Regions from separate parts of the Homo sapiens genome. Here region 2 is linked to region 1. The links are contacts of gene promoters, found by promoter capture Hi-C in blood cells and fetal thymus (Javierre and others, 2016). All regions are on one chromosome and are shown on one strand. The core of a region is centred on a gene start or on the middle of the fragment in contact, and the rest is flanking DNA. Distances in the headings are between cores, read along the strand shown. Region 1 holds the start of IP6K1 (inositol hexakisphosphate kinase 1). Region 2 overlaps RBM6 (RNA binding motif protein 6).

Evidence for each region. The method cuts DNA at HindIII sites, captures the fragments that hold promoters and counts their contacts. A CHiCAGO score of 5 or more calls a contact.
Region 2: a fragment that was not itself captured here is called in contact with the fragment with the promoter of IP6K1 in region 1 in 1 of 17 cell types (endothelial precursors); the score reaches 6.5 in endothelial precursors.

The regions. Positions count from the first base shown.
Region 1 is chr3:49,782,765-49,789,198 of GRCh38, reverse strand. It overlaps IP6K1 (inositol hexakisphosphate kinase 1), which reads left to right and starts at 2,657. Exons shown (of 6, transcript NM_153273.4): 1 at 2,657-2,845. RefSeq lists silencers at 804-1,013, 1,794-1,958, 2,694-3,043 and enhancers at 2,134-2,203, 2,290-2,979. The HindIII fragment of the contact is 18,469 bases long and covers 1-6,434 here.
Region 2 is chr3:50,060,982-50,067,415 of GRCh38, reverse strand. RBM6 (RNA binding motif protein 6) reads right to left here. Exons shown (of 21, transcript NM_005777.3): 12 at 6,418-6,434; 13 at 6,195-6,276; 14 at 5,869-5,954; 15 at 5,308-5,454; 16 at 2,290-2,385; 17 at 914-1,174. Among named protein-coding and RNA genes, the nearest start is that of RBM5, 25 kb to the left of the region's middle. The HindIII fragment of the contact is 1,270 bases long and covers 3,015-4,284 here.

The sequences.
Region 1 (6,434 bases), core at 1,408-3,907:
CAGGCTGGTCTTGAACTCCTGACCTCAGGTGATCCTCCTGCCTCAGCCTCCCAAAGTGCTGGGATTACAGGCATGAGCCTCCGCACCAGCCAATCTCACAATCTCATTCTTTTTAATGGCTGAATAATATTCCATTCTGCATATGTACCATATTTTCTTTTCTTTTTTTTTTTTTTGAGATGGAGTCTCGCTCTGTTGCCCAGGCTGGAGCACAGTGGCGTGATCTCGGCTCACTGCAAGTTCCGCCTTCTGGGTTCACGCCATTCTCCTGCCTCAGCCTCCTGAGTAGCTGGGACTACAGGCGCTTGCCACCACGCCCGGCTAATTTTTTGTATTTTTAGTAGAGATGGGGTTTCACCGTGTTAGCCAGGATGGTCTCCATCTCCTGACCTCATGATCCGCCCGCCTCGGCCTCCCAAAGTGCTGGGATTACAGGCGTGAGCCACCGCACCCGGCCCATATGTACCATATTTTCTTTATCCATTCACCTGTTGATGGACACTTAGGTTGCTTCCAAATCTTGGCTATTGTGAATGGCACTGCAGCAAACATGGAAGTGCAGATATCTTTTTGATATACTGATTTCCTTTCCTTTGGGTACATACCCAGCAGTGGGATTGCTGGATCATGTGGTAGCTGTATTTTTAGTTTTCTGAGGAACCTCCGAACTGTTATCCACAGTAGTTATACCACTGTTGCTTTTTGAGGGTCCCATCAAACTTCAGGGCAATTTGCCAACTGTATGTGGAGGTTTTCTTGGGAAGGATCTGGAGCTTTTGCACTGCGGTGAGGGGTGATGCAGACTTGAGAATCCTGTGGCATGGCTGGTCCTGGAGGATTAGCAGAATCCCCCTTTTGAGGGTTGTTGGCTTTTCTTCCTGATCTGTTTCTTCTGGTTCCTCTGCTCTCACATCTCCCTGTGTTGACCTGAGCTATTGCATGTAGCCAAGTGGCCTGCAGCAATCTGCTGGTGGGCAGGTCTTGCTGGATGCAGTGTTGGCCCACTCTCCATGCCCAACCTGACATCAGGTCTCAGGCTTCTGCCAGCTCTCCAAGAGGACCTTACTGTGGTAAATCCAAGTTATCACAGTCTTTACTCGTCTGTTGAGTCTGTGGGCCTGAACCCCCTCAGGGTACTGGAGAACCTCCCTTTTTTTTTTTTGAGACAGAATTTTGCTCTGTCACCCAGGCTAGAGTGTGGTGGCGTGATCTCAGCTCACTGAACCTCTGCCTCCCAGGTTCAAGTGATCCTCCTGCCTCAACCTCCTGAGTAGCTGGGATTACAGGCACCTGCCATCACGTCCAGCTAATTTTTGTATTTTTAGTAGGGACAGGGTTTCACCATTTTGGCCAGGCTGGTCTCGAACCTCTGACCTCAAGTGATCCACCTTCTTTGGCCTCCCAAAGTGCTGGATTACAGGCATGAGCCACTGCGCCTAGCTAGGAGGACCTCCCCTTCTGAACCAGTTATGGTATCCCAGGGCCAGGAAGAAGCTGAAAGCCTTCTGTGGGAACAAAACAAAGCAAAACAAAAACGCTTCATGGGGCTTCCACCAAAGTTAGTGTTTTAAGGCACGCCTCAGGAACAGCAACTTGGAAGCAGGTTGTTCCAGGAAGTGGTTGTAGGCAGATTTTTCCTGAGTTCTTCCCCTGCTCTGAGGGCTCATTAAATCTTCCTCTGAGAAGCTCCACTTTTATCTTCATTTTACAGATGGGACAACCAAAGCTAAAGAGAGGCTAAGGCTCAAAAGTCAGAGTTAGCTAGTTGGGGCATTTGGGTGTGGGCCCAGGCCACGTAACTTCATCTGTTGTTCTAAGCCTGAAGCCAAGCCCAGAGTTAGGTGTTCTGTATGGGGAGCAAGGTGTGACCATCTTCCTGGGACCATTAGTCTGCTTGGGAGGCCGGTCATGACAGTCCAGGGCAAAAGATGCTGTCACAGGATCTCAAGACAAGATGCTCTAGGGAAGAGAAAAGGGAGTGCCCGCTGTGTGTCAGGACTTGTGCTAGGCTCTAAACCTCAGGCAGGAAAGCATGGGCAATGAGCCAGAGGCTGCTGTGGCAGCACAGACTGCGGTACCTCGAGGCTAGTAAGGGACAAAGCGTGGGAAGCTGGGATAGAGGCTCCTCACACTCTGAAACCAGCAGGAGGAGGTGCGAGACCCAGCACCTCCATTTCTAGAGGTGGCGTGACCTTGGCTCGGCCTCCCCTCTCTGAGCCTCAGTTTCCTCTCCAGAGTGAACTGGGGGCTGCACCCCCCTTCTCCCAGAGTGGGGGACAAAAAAACGAATAGCACACCGCTGAGATTCCCTGTGTGTGCGCAAGTGTATGACAAGACGCCGCCGGTACCGCACGAGGGCCAGGGACGCAGAGAGGCCAAGGGCGCTCCGGCCTCGTAGTAGCCAGCGAAAACTCCGCCGCCAGCCACTCCGGGAACGAAGCGCATGCGCCAACCCATGCCGTCACAGTCACGTGCCCCACGCTTTCGGCAGAGGCCCTGAGAGGCAGACTCTGACTGACACGTGAGCTGACCTGTCAGCAGGAAGCACTTCCCCTGGCGACGAGCAAAAAGACTGTTGATTGGGGATAGCACCCCCTCGGGGGCGGGTTCTTTGCAGTCCTGGTTACTATGACGCCCGGCCCCCGCCCCCTCGGCTAGCCGCCATCTTGTTGTTGATCCGTACCCAGTGGGCAGCGCCGGGAGCTGGACCAAGCGGCCGGTGAGAGGCCGCTGTAGCGGTGCTCAGCCACCTGTGCTGCCTGCCAGGGGGCGGGCCGAAACCTGGAGGCCCGGGGGGCCCAGCTCCCGTAGGGAGCCGTGGGCGCTCGGTGCCCGGGCCGGGCAGGTGAGTGACAGGAGCCGGGCCGATAGACCGGCCTGACGCCCGCGGGGAGGGCGGTGGCGGGCGCGGGGTTGGAGTGGGCGCGTGTGGGGTCGGGGCTCCGGTGGGGCCATCACTGGAACATCGCTCGAGCGTCCTGACCGGCCGCCCGCCGAGCCTCCCAGATGCTGGCACCGAAGCCGGGGGGACAGCCGGTGTGGAGGACGGAGAGCGCCAGTGCCTGAGGGTTGGCCGGCTAGTAGCGGGAAACCAGCTTCTCTGACCGAAGCTCTGGACTCCGCTGATCCGGAGCGCTAAAGTGTGTCCGGTGCCACCCTGATGCTCTCCTGGGAGTTATGTTGCTCCTGGCTGAGAAATAGACTTACCTCTTTCTTAGATAGCGTTCCTGCGAGTGATTTTCAGGACGCTGGATGCTAAGACTAGACGAAGCAAGCCAAAGCCCCCGCGAGCCAGGCAGGCCGGTGTCACGGCCCTATGATTATGGCAAGGGGGACCCTCTGCCTGGCTGCTGCTTCCTGAGACCCGTTCGGAACCTCACGTGTACCTCGAAGCTCACCGTTTTCCTCGCAAAGAACCTGGTTAAATGTCCATAATGGCTGAGTTTTATTTTGGAACATAATTTCTTTGGTTCTTCACCACCACTTTTTGGAGAGTGGTAATGTCTTCCTCTTTTTGCTTTAGGAGAAAGTGAGTATTATGGTGATGACTTGATTTTATCTCCTAAAGGGATGCTCGCCATAGGAGACAAAGGAAACGTAGGAGTGTCTTAGAATCGGAAAAAGAAACTTGTTTTTGTTGTGGATGATATGGAACTGGCAAATTAACTGTTTTTTTTCTTTTTTTTCTTTTGAGACAGAGTCTCTCGCTCTGTTGCCCAGGCCGGAGTGCAGTGGCGCGATCTCGGCTCACCACAGCCTCCACCTCCCGGGTTCAAGCGATTATCCTGCCTCAGCCTCCCGAGTAGGTAGGACTACAGACACGCGCCACCATGCCCGGCTAATTTTTGTATTTTTAATAGAGACGGGGTTTCACCATGTTGGCCAGGCTGGTCTCGAACTCCTGACCTCGTGATCCACCCCCCTTGGCCTCCCAAAGTGCTGGGGTTACAAGTGTGAGCCACTATGCCCGGCGCAAATTAACTTTTAACAGTACTAAAATTATCTTGCTCAGTGAAAACACCTTCAAGCCCCTTTCCTGTGAATTTGGGCAAGTTGGAGATCCTCAGTAGAGTGTGCAGGTCTAGGAAGAGTTCTCATTGCTCCAAAACACATTTCTCTTGACCTGTGGCCTCTTTGGTTCTTTGTACAGTCTTCTTGTATGTGGTCATAGAATATGCCTGCATGAGATGACTAAGAAGTCAAGCGACAATACTTTGTGCACTTTTTGTTTTGTTTTGTTTTGTTTTGTTTTTTTGAGATGGAGTCTTGCTCCGTTGCCAGGCTGGAGTACAGTGGTGCCATCTCGGCTCACTGCAACCTCTGACTCCCTGGTTCAAGCAATTTTCCTGCCTCAGCCTCCCGAGTAGCTGGGACTACAGGCACGTGCCACCACACCTGGCTAATTTTTGTATTTTTAGTAGAGACGGGGTTTCACTATGTTGGCCAGACTGGTCTCGAACTCCTGACCTCATGATCAACCCGCCTCCGCCTCCCAAATTGTTGGGATTACAGGCATGAGCCACCGCGCCAAGCCTACTTTTTTTTTTTTTTTCTGAGACGAAGTCTCGTTCTCTCACCCAGGCTGGAGTGCAATGGCACAATCTCAGCTGACTGCAACCTCTGCCTCCTGGGTTCAAGCAAGTCTCCTGCCCCAGCCTCCCAAGTAGCTGGGATTACAGGTGCGTGCCACCATGCCCGGCTAATTTCTGTATTTTTAGTAGAGACCTGGTTTCACCATGTTGTTCAGGCTGATCTCGAACTCCTGACCTCCTGATCCGCCTGCCTTGGCCTCCCAAAGTGCTGGGATTACAGGCGTGAGCCACTGTGCCTGGTCACGCGCCTAGCCTACTTTGTGCACTTCTATCAGGATCTTGTCACCTCTGAATGTATAATTTTGAAAGAGGCCAGGTGCGGTAGCTCATGTCTGTAATCCCAGCACTTTGGGAGGCTGAGGCGGGCGGATCACCTGAGGTCAGTAGTTAAGAGATTAGCCTATCCAAAATGGCAAAATCCCATGTCTACTAAAAATACAAAAATTAGCTGGGCGTGGTGGTGCATGGAGGCTGAGGCAGGAGAATCACCTGAACCCGGAAAGCGGAGGTTGCAGTGAGCTGAGATCGCGCCACTGCACTCCAGCCTGGGTGACAGAGTGAGACTCAGTCTCCAAAAATAAATAAATAAATAAATAATAAATAAAATAATAATTTTGAAAGAAACCAGCTCCTTGGTCAGGAGATCCTTTAGGAAAGCAGGTGCTGAACCCAGAGGACGCTGGCAGCTTGTTGCTGTTCGACTGAGTTTATACTGCACTTGTGAGGCAAGGGAGAAGTTGAGTAGTCTTTAGTTATTTATTTCATTGTCCTTCAGGGCCATTTTTTGAATCTTTAGTTCATTATAATCTTGGTAAGACCAGTTCCTTGGGCAGTTCTTGAAAGGAGGGGGATATTAAAATATTAGCTTTTCTTTCTTTCTTTTTTTTTTTTTTTGAGACGGAATCTCGCTCGGTTGCGCTGGCTGGAGTGCAGTGGCATGGTCTTGGCTTACTGCAAGCTCCACCTCCTGGGTTCACGCCATTCTCCTGCCTCAGCTTCCCAAATAGCTGGGACTATAGGCACCTGCCACCATGCCCGGCCAATTTTTTTGTATTTTTAGGAGAGACGGGGTTTCACCGTGTTAGCCAGGATGGTCTCGATCTCCTGACCTCATGATCCGTCTACCTCGGCCTCCCAAAGTGCTGGGATTACAGGCGAGAGCTACTGCACCCAGCAAAAATATTAGCTTTTCAAAATTGTCCCAAGCCCCTGCTTTTTTTTTTTTTCTGAGACAGGGTTTCACCATGTTGGCCAGGCTGGTCACTCCTGACAGGTGATCCACCTGCCTCAGCCTTGGCCTGGGATTACAGGGGTGAGACACCACACTGGCTGTCATTTGCATTTTTAAAAATTACTTATGTAGAGATGGGGTCTCAGTTGCCCAGACTGGGCTTGAACTCCTAGTCTCAAGTGATCCTCCTGTCTTGGCCTCCCAAAATGCTAGGATTACAGGCATGAGCCACCATGCCTGGCCTTTTTTTTTTTTTGAGACAGAGTCTCACTCTGTCGCCCAGGCTGGAATGCAGTGGCATGATCTTGTCTCACTGCAACTTCCGCCTCCTGGGTTCAAGTGATACTCCTGCCTCAGCCTCCCGAGTAGCTGGGACTACAGGAGTGCGCCAGCACGCCTGGCTAATTTTTTTTTTTTTTTTTTTTTTTAGTAGAGCCGGGGTTTTGCCATGTTGGCCAGGCTGGTCTCAAACTCCTGACCTCAAGTGATCCACCCACCTTGGCCTCCCAAAGTGCTGGGATTACAGGTGTGAGCCACCACACCTGGCCACGCCTGGCCTTTTTTAAGAGACAGTCTCTTAAAAACCTCCTAGGCTGGAGTGTAGTGACACA
Region 2 (6,434 bases), core at 2,400-4,899, 280 kb before region 1:
CCACAACCCTTTCTCTTCCTACCCATCCTCCATATTTGGCACCCTAGCCACAGTCATAATGCTTGGCTTCGGCCTATACATGGAAGTTCTTTGAGGGTAGGCATAACCTTAATCCAGAGCAATTCATTCTTGAATTGGACTGTTTTAATGATAGGAACTGGGGCTGATATACACTGAGGAAGGATTGTATAAGCTGCTGCGGCTTTTTTTTTTTTTTTTTTTTTTTTTTGAGATAGAGTCTTGGTCTGTCACCCAGGCTGGAGTGCAGTGGTGTGATCTCGGTTCACTGCAACCTTTGCCTCCCAGGTTCAAGCGATTCTCCTGCCTCAACCTCCCAAGTAGTTGGGATTACAGGCATGCGCCACCACATCCAGGTAATTTTTGTATTTTTAGTAGAGACAGTTTCACCATGTTGGCCAAGCTGGTCTCAAACTCCTGATCTCAAGTGATCTACCTAGGTGCCTTGGCCTCCCAAAGTGCTGGGATTACAGGTGTAAACCACTAGGCCCGGCCTAAATAATCTTTTTTATTCCCCATAATCCCCATCAATAATATGAGTCAACAGTTTTGTTTTGTTTTGTTTTTTAAGAGATGGAGTCTTGCTCTGTTACCCAGGCTGGAGTGCAGTGGCACGATCTCGGCTCACTGCAACCTCTGCCTCCCAGGTTCTAGCAATTCTCCTGCCTCAGCCTCCCGAGTGGCTGGGACTACAGGCACACAACACCACACCTGGCTAATTTTTTGTATTTTAGTACAAAGGGGGTTTCACCATGTTGCCCAGACTGGTCTTGTACTTCTGAGCCCAGGCAATCCACCCGCCTCGGCCTCCCAAAGTGCTAGGATTACAGGCATGAGCCACAAAGCCCGGCCAAGAGTCAACAGTTTGAAAGGGCATAGCTCCTTCCCCTAATACCTTGTGCAGGTCTGACAGCTGCTGGTGTTTGATCAGAACTTCTTTATTGGGAAACTGCCTTCTGCAAAGCAGACAAGCCAGTTTATTCCAGTCAGTGAGTTTGTCTTCTTCATTCTCCTTCTTGGTTTGCTCCTCTCGCTTCTGGGGCTGTGCTGTGCGGGGCTGTGGGGGAGGGGTCTGTTCCTCCTCTTCTTCCTCCTCATAGTCACTGTCTCCTCCATATTCACCCAAGAGGCCGATCAGTGGGTTTACCACTTTAGGCTGGAAGGAGAAGGCCAGGGATCAATACCAAATTCAACCTATATTTTGGGGTCCATTTTTTTTGATATTCTGATATGGGCATCTCATTTCATTGAATTGGGTTCAAAATAAACTCACTAGCCATGCTGCTCATTTCCCAGATGAAAGCAACATGGCCAGAGCTTGGCTTTGCTCCTTGTTCATTAAGAATAAACAAGAAAGATTCCTTTAGAAGTGACTCTAGCAACAGAATGTGAGGAGAAGGAAGAGAAAGGAAAATAAACATAGAAAATAGTAAAAGGTTACAAATTACAAAGAGGAAGAGATAAATACCTCCAAATTACTGTAACTCATGGAGGGAAGAAAAGATGACTTTCATTAAGACTCTAGCAAAGAGGATTTAGGAAGTAAACTAAAAGCAACTGCATTAATAGGCACTTGGGTAGACAGATCCAGCTCACATGTAAGGTAAAGGCAAAGCATGGTTAAGACAGATGCCACAATGAGCTGAATTAATAATGCGGAGCAGGAAAAGGGTACCTTATAAGAACTGTTAAATAATGATGCATAATCATTGGTCTATGATCACTCAAAATAAATAAATAATGCATGGTCACTATTGTTATATACCTGCATTCAATCAGAATCACTGGTGATTAGGTTGAGACTACTGCTTGAAGGCATCTAAAAAATGGGCACCAATATTAGCATCATTCACTCTGAACAGGCAGAAACTATAAAAAAATGACCACGCATGCACTCCATATCTAAGAGATTCTTGTGTGATGCCAAAAGGCAGGAAAGATTGAGGCTGAGAAAACGGGTTTCCTTGGTGATTTAGAGAACTGACAAGAACAAGATGATAAAAAGGGCTAGGCATCTCGTCTGGTAAGAATGGCACAGGGCAGAGAGAAAGAGTCCAGATAACTGCCTCTGGTTCTCCAGTAATACCCCCATTAGCAGACAGAAAACTTTATCTCATGCTTGTACTCAAAAGAAATGGGAATCCTTATTCGGGAGACATAGTGAGGTAAAAGACCAACACCAGAGGAAGGCATCAGCCTTTGCGCTTCCTCTTCTACTCGGAACCATCCCCAGCCCCAGCCCTAGGTCCAGGGGATCAATGTTGGTCTTACTGGAGGGGGACTCTCTTCCTTCTTCACAGTAGGAGGCAGGGGCTTCTTAAAGACGTCTTCTGCAGGGGCCTTCCCTTCACTGGCATTTTCCTGAAACTGATCAAACCAGAGGTAACTCTCACATGATATTCACTCATAATAACTGATAAAGGCTGGGCTGGGTGCGGTGGCTCACGCCTATAATCCCAGCACTCTGGGAGGTCAAGGCAGGTGGATCACAACGTCAGGAGATCGAGACCACCCTGGCTAATGCAGTGAAACTCCATCTCTACTAAAAATACAAAAAATTAGCTGGGCGTGGTGGCGGGCACCTGTAGTCCCAGTTAGTAGGGAGGCTGAGGCAGGAGAATGAACCCGAGAGGCGGAGCTTGCAGTGAGCCAAGATTGTGCCACTGTGCTCCAGCCTGGCCAACATGGTGAAACCCCGTCTCTAGTAAAAATACAAAAATTAGCTGGGTGTGGTGGTTTTGGCCTGTAATCCCAGCTACTTGGGAGGCTGAGGTAGAAGAACTGCTGGAACCTGGGAGGCAGAGGTTGCAGTGAGCCGAGATCGTGCCACTCCATTCCAGCCTGGGTGACAGAGAGAGACTCTGTCTCAAAAAATAAAATAAAATAAAATAAAACGTTAGTATATATTGCATGATTACTGTATGTCAGACCAGATGAGGCATGTATATATAAACATTGTCTTCTTCAGACTTTACTATGATCCTCCTATGTAAGCTTTACTATCTTAATTTTACAAATGATTGGGAATATAGTTTGACAGATTAAGTGGCTGAAGCAGAGTCCAAATATTAAATCAGTATGACTCTAAGTTTTTAAACACACACACACACTCTCTCTCCTCTTTTCTGTATCTCTAAACAACTAACAGTGTTAGAAGGGGAAAAAAAGGCTGGGCGCAGTGGCTCATGCCTGTAATCCCAGCACTTTGGTAGGCTGAGGTGGGCGGATCACAAGGTCAGGAGTTCGAGACCAGCTTGACCAACATGGTGAAACCGCGTCTCTACTAAAAATACAAAAATTAGCTGGGCGTTGTGGCAGCGCCTGATATCCCAGCTACTCAGGAGGCTGAGGCAGGAGAATCCCTTGAGCCTGGAAGGCGGAGGTTGCAGTGAGCCGAGATAGATCACGCCACTGCACTCCAGCCTGGGCGACAGAGCGGCTCCGTCTCAAAAGAAAAAAAAGGGAAAAAAAGGTGTTATGAATTGAATCACAAGCAAATTCATCCATTTTCACTAATGCATAACTGATATCAAGGTAGGTGTGATCTTGGCTCACTGCAACCTCTGCCTCTCAGGTTCAAGAGATTCTCCTGCCTCAGCCTCCTGAGTAGCTGGGACTACAGGCTTGCGCCACCACGTCCAGCTAATTTTTGTCTTTTTAGTAGAGATGGGGGTTTCACCATATTGGCTAGGCGGTCTCAAACTCCTGACCTAAAGTAATCCGCCTGCCTTGGCCTCTCAAAGTGCTGGGATTACAGGCATGAGCCACCATGCCCGGCAGATTTTCTTTTTTTTTTTTTTTTGAGACAAGTCTGGCTCTGTTGTCCATGCTGGAGTGCAGTGGCGCAATCACAGCTCACTGCAATCTCCTGGGCTCAAGCGATCCTCTTAACTCAGTCTCCCAAGTAGCTTGGACTACAGGCATGCATCACCACAGTAGGCTAATTTTTTTTGTATTTTTGGTAGAGATGGAGTTTCACCATGTTGCTGGTGTCAAACTCCTAAACTCAGGCATCCACCTGTCTTGGCCTCCCAACGTGCTGGGATTACAGGTGTGAGCCACTGCACCCTGCCTAATAATTTGATTTTGTATTAGATGTAAAAATGTTCATCATCTCTGATTCTGAAAATGTGTCATAGGGAGTAATTTAAAAGAAGAAACAAAATGCTAAATGTTATATATTATGACAGTATAAGATTAGAAAGAGGCGAGCAAGGTGGGTCTTGCCTGTAACTGAAGCACTTTGGGAGACTGAGACAGGAAGCTTACTTGAGGCCAGAAGTTCGAGATCAGCCTGGTCAATCTAGCAAGATCCTGTCTCTACAAAAAAGCAAAAATTAGCTGGTCATGGTGGCTCATGCCTGTAGTCCCCGCTACTTGGGAGGCTGAGGTGGGAGGACTGCTTAAGCCCATGGGTTTGACGTAGAAGTGAGCTATGATCATGCCACTGCACTCCAACCTGGGAGACAGAGGAAGACTTTGTCTCAGAAAAAAAAAAAAAAAAAGGAAAAAGAAAAGATTAGAAAGAGAAGACAAATAATGTAGGAGAGATGAAGAAAATGAAGGTACAGTTATACCGTGAATTTTTACCATGTGGGCATTAAAAATAATAGAGTATATAGAAACATGGAAAAAATACTTAGGATAAAAAGTGACTAAACAGTATCTCCTGCTATAATTACAACTAGAGAAATGTGTATAAAGTCAAACACTAAAAAAGGAATGTAGAAAAGTGAAAATGTATGGAGCTGAGGTGTTGGGATTTGAGCTGGGCCACTTTGTTCTACCATCCATAGTTTTCCCATTTGTAAAAGAGAGAGTTGGGATATAAGAGGTGAGGGAATTGCCTACACCAGGTAAAAATACTCATTAACAGAGGTTTTTTTTTTTTTTTTGATACAGAGTCTTGCTCTGTTGCCAGGCTGGAGTGTAGTGGCGCGATCTCGGCTCACTGCAACCTCTGCCTCCAGGGTTCAAGCAATTCTCCTGCCTCAGCCTCCTGAGTAGCTGGGACTACAGGCGTGTACCACCACACGCAGCTAATTTTTGTATTTTTAGTAGAGACAGGGGTTTCACCATGTTGGCCAGGATGGTCTCGATCTCCTGACCTCATGATCCGCCCGCCTTGGCCTCCCAAAGTGCTGGGATTACAGGCGTTAGCCACCACGCCCGGCTGACAGAGTATTTTTAAAGTTACTTTACACTTGCAAACATAGATATCCTCTGTTCGTACCTCCAACATTTTAATAACTATGTGGCAAAAGACAGCAAATTAACAATTCCTCTTACCCTCGTCACTCCTCTGTCTTTTTTCTCCTTGCCATCTCTTTTAGACATTTCCTTCTTGCTACTTGACTTTCCTTGACTGGTGGGTTTTTTTTCCTTGATCTCTTCTTCCTCAGGTAATCCAGGATCCTGGGGCACATAGACTTCTTGCTGCGATACAGTTGGAAACAAGTAAGTCTACAGAATGTTTCAGTTTCCCAGCAATTCCAGGTCTAAGGCGCACAGTTCCCTTTTAGGGGAAGAAACAACTTTTTTACTTACAAGTCTAAGAAGAGTCCACATCAATCTAAAAACCCACTCCAGGGACCAGGACACATTCAGACCACCCACTGTCCACTTTTTCAAGAGCAACACTGTTCTTACCTGTATTGCCACAAGGCACTGATTTTCCATATAGGCAACAGTTCTGTTTCCATAGATCTAAACTTTTCCACTTTTCATGCAATGAGCATCCAGAGAATCCAGGGAATAAAATCCTCAAGTAGCAAATTATGGGTGCTTTTCTCAAAAGAATCATTGACAGAGGTAAAAAAAAAAAAAAAAAAAAAAAAGCCCCAAACTCACCTGGGTATTGGGGTCATAATAAGTTCCTGCCAAGGGGTCATAATAGTAGCCAGTAGCAGAATCATATATGTAGCAGTCAGATGATGCTAAAGGTAACAAGATCAGAGCCAATGTTAGTCTCTGTCCAATGAAGCCCTTACTGGAGACTCATCAAGAACCCAAGAATTAGGGTGACCAACACAAATAGGTGCATCTACAGATGCCTCTCTCTGGATGAGCACCCTCAGTCAACAGTGTATCTTGCCAACTGTGATCACACAGATGTCAAGTAATGAGTAGCAAGTCAAGCAAAAAAGAGCAACAGAAATAAAACAAAGGTTACTTACACTGTTGTCCTTGTCGATTTGTATCTGAAGACCAGTCTGAATTTCTGCCACCTCCCCTCCTATCTCGGAAATATTTTTTACCCTATCACAGAAAGGCAAGTTAAAATTACAGAACTATCCAATGGTCATTCACCTTAACAGTCACCCACTAAAGAAAATTCAAGATCACCCTTATAGTCACCTGAGGATTTTAATAGAGCACTCCCCACCTGTTACAGCCTACCTGATAGTAATGCATGT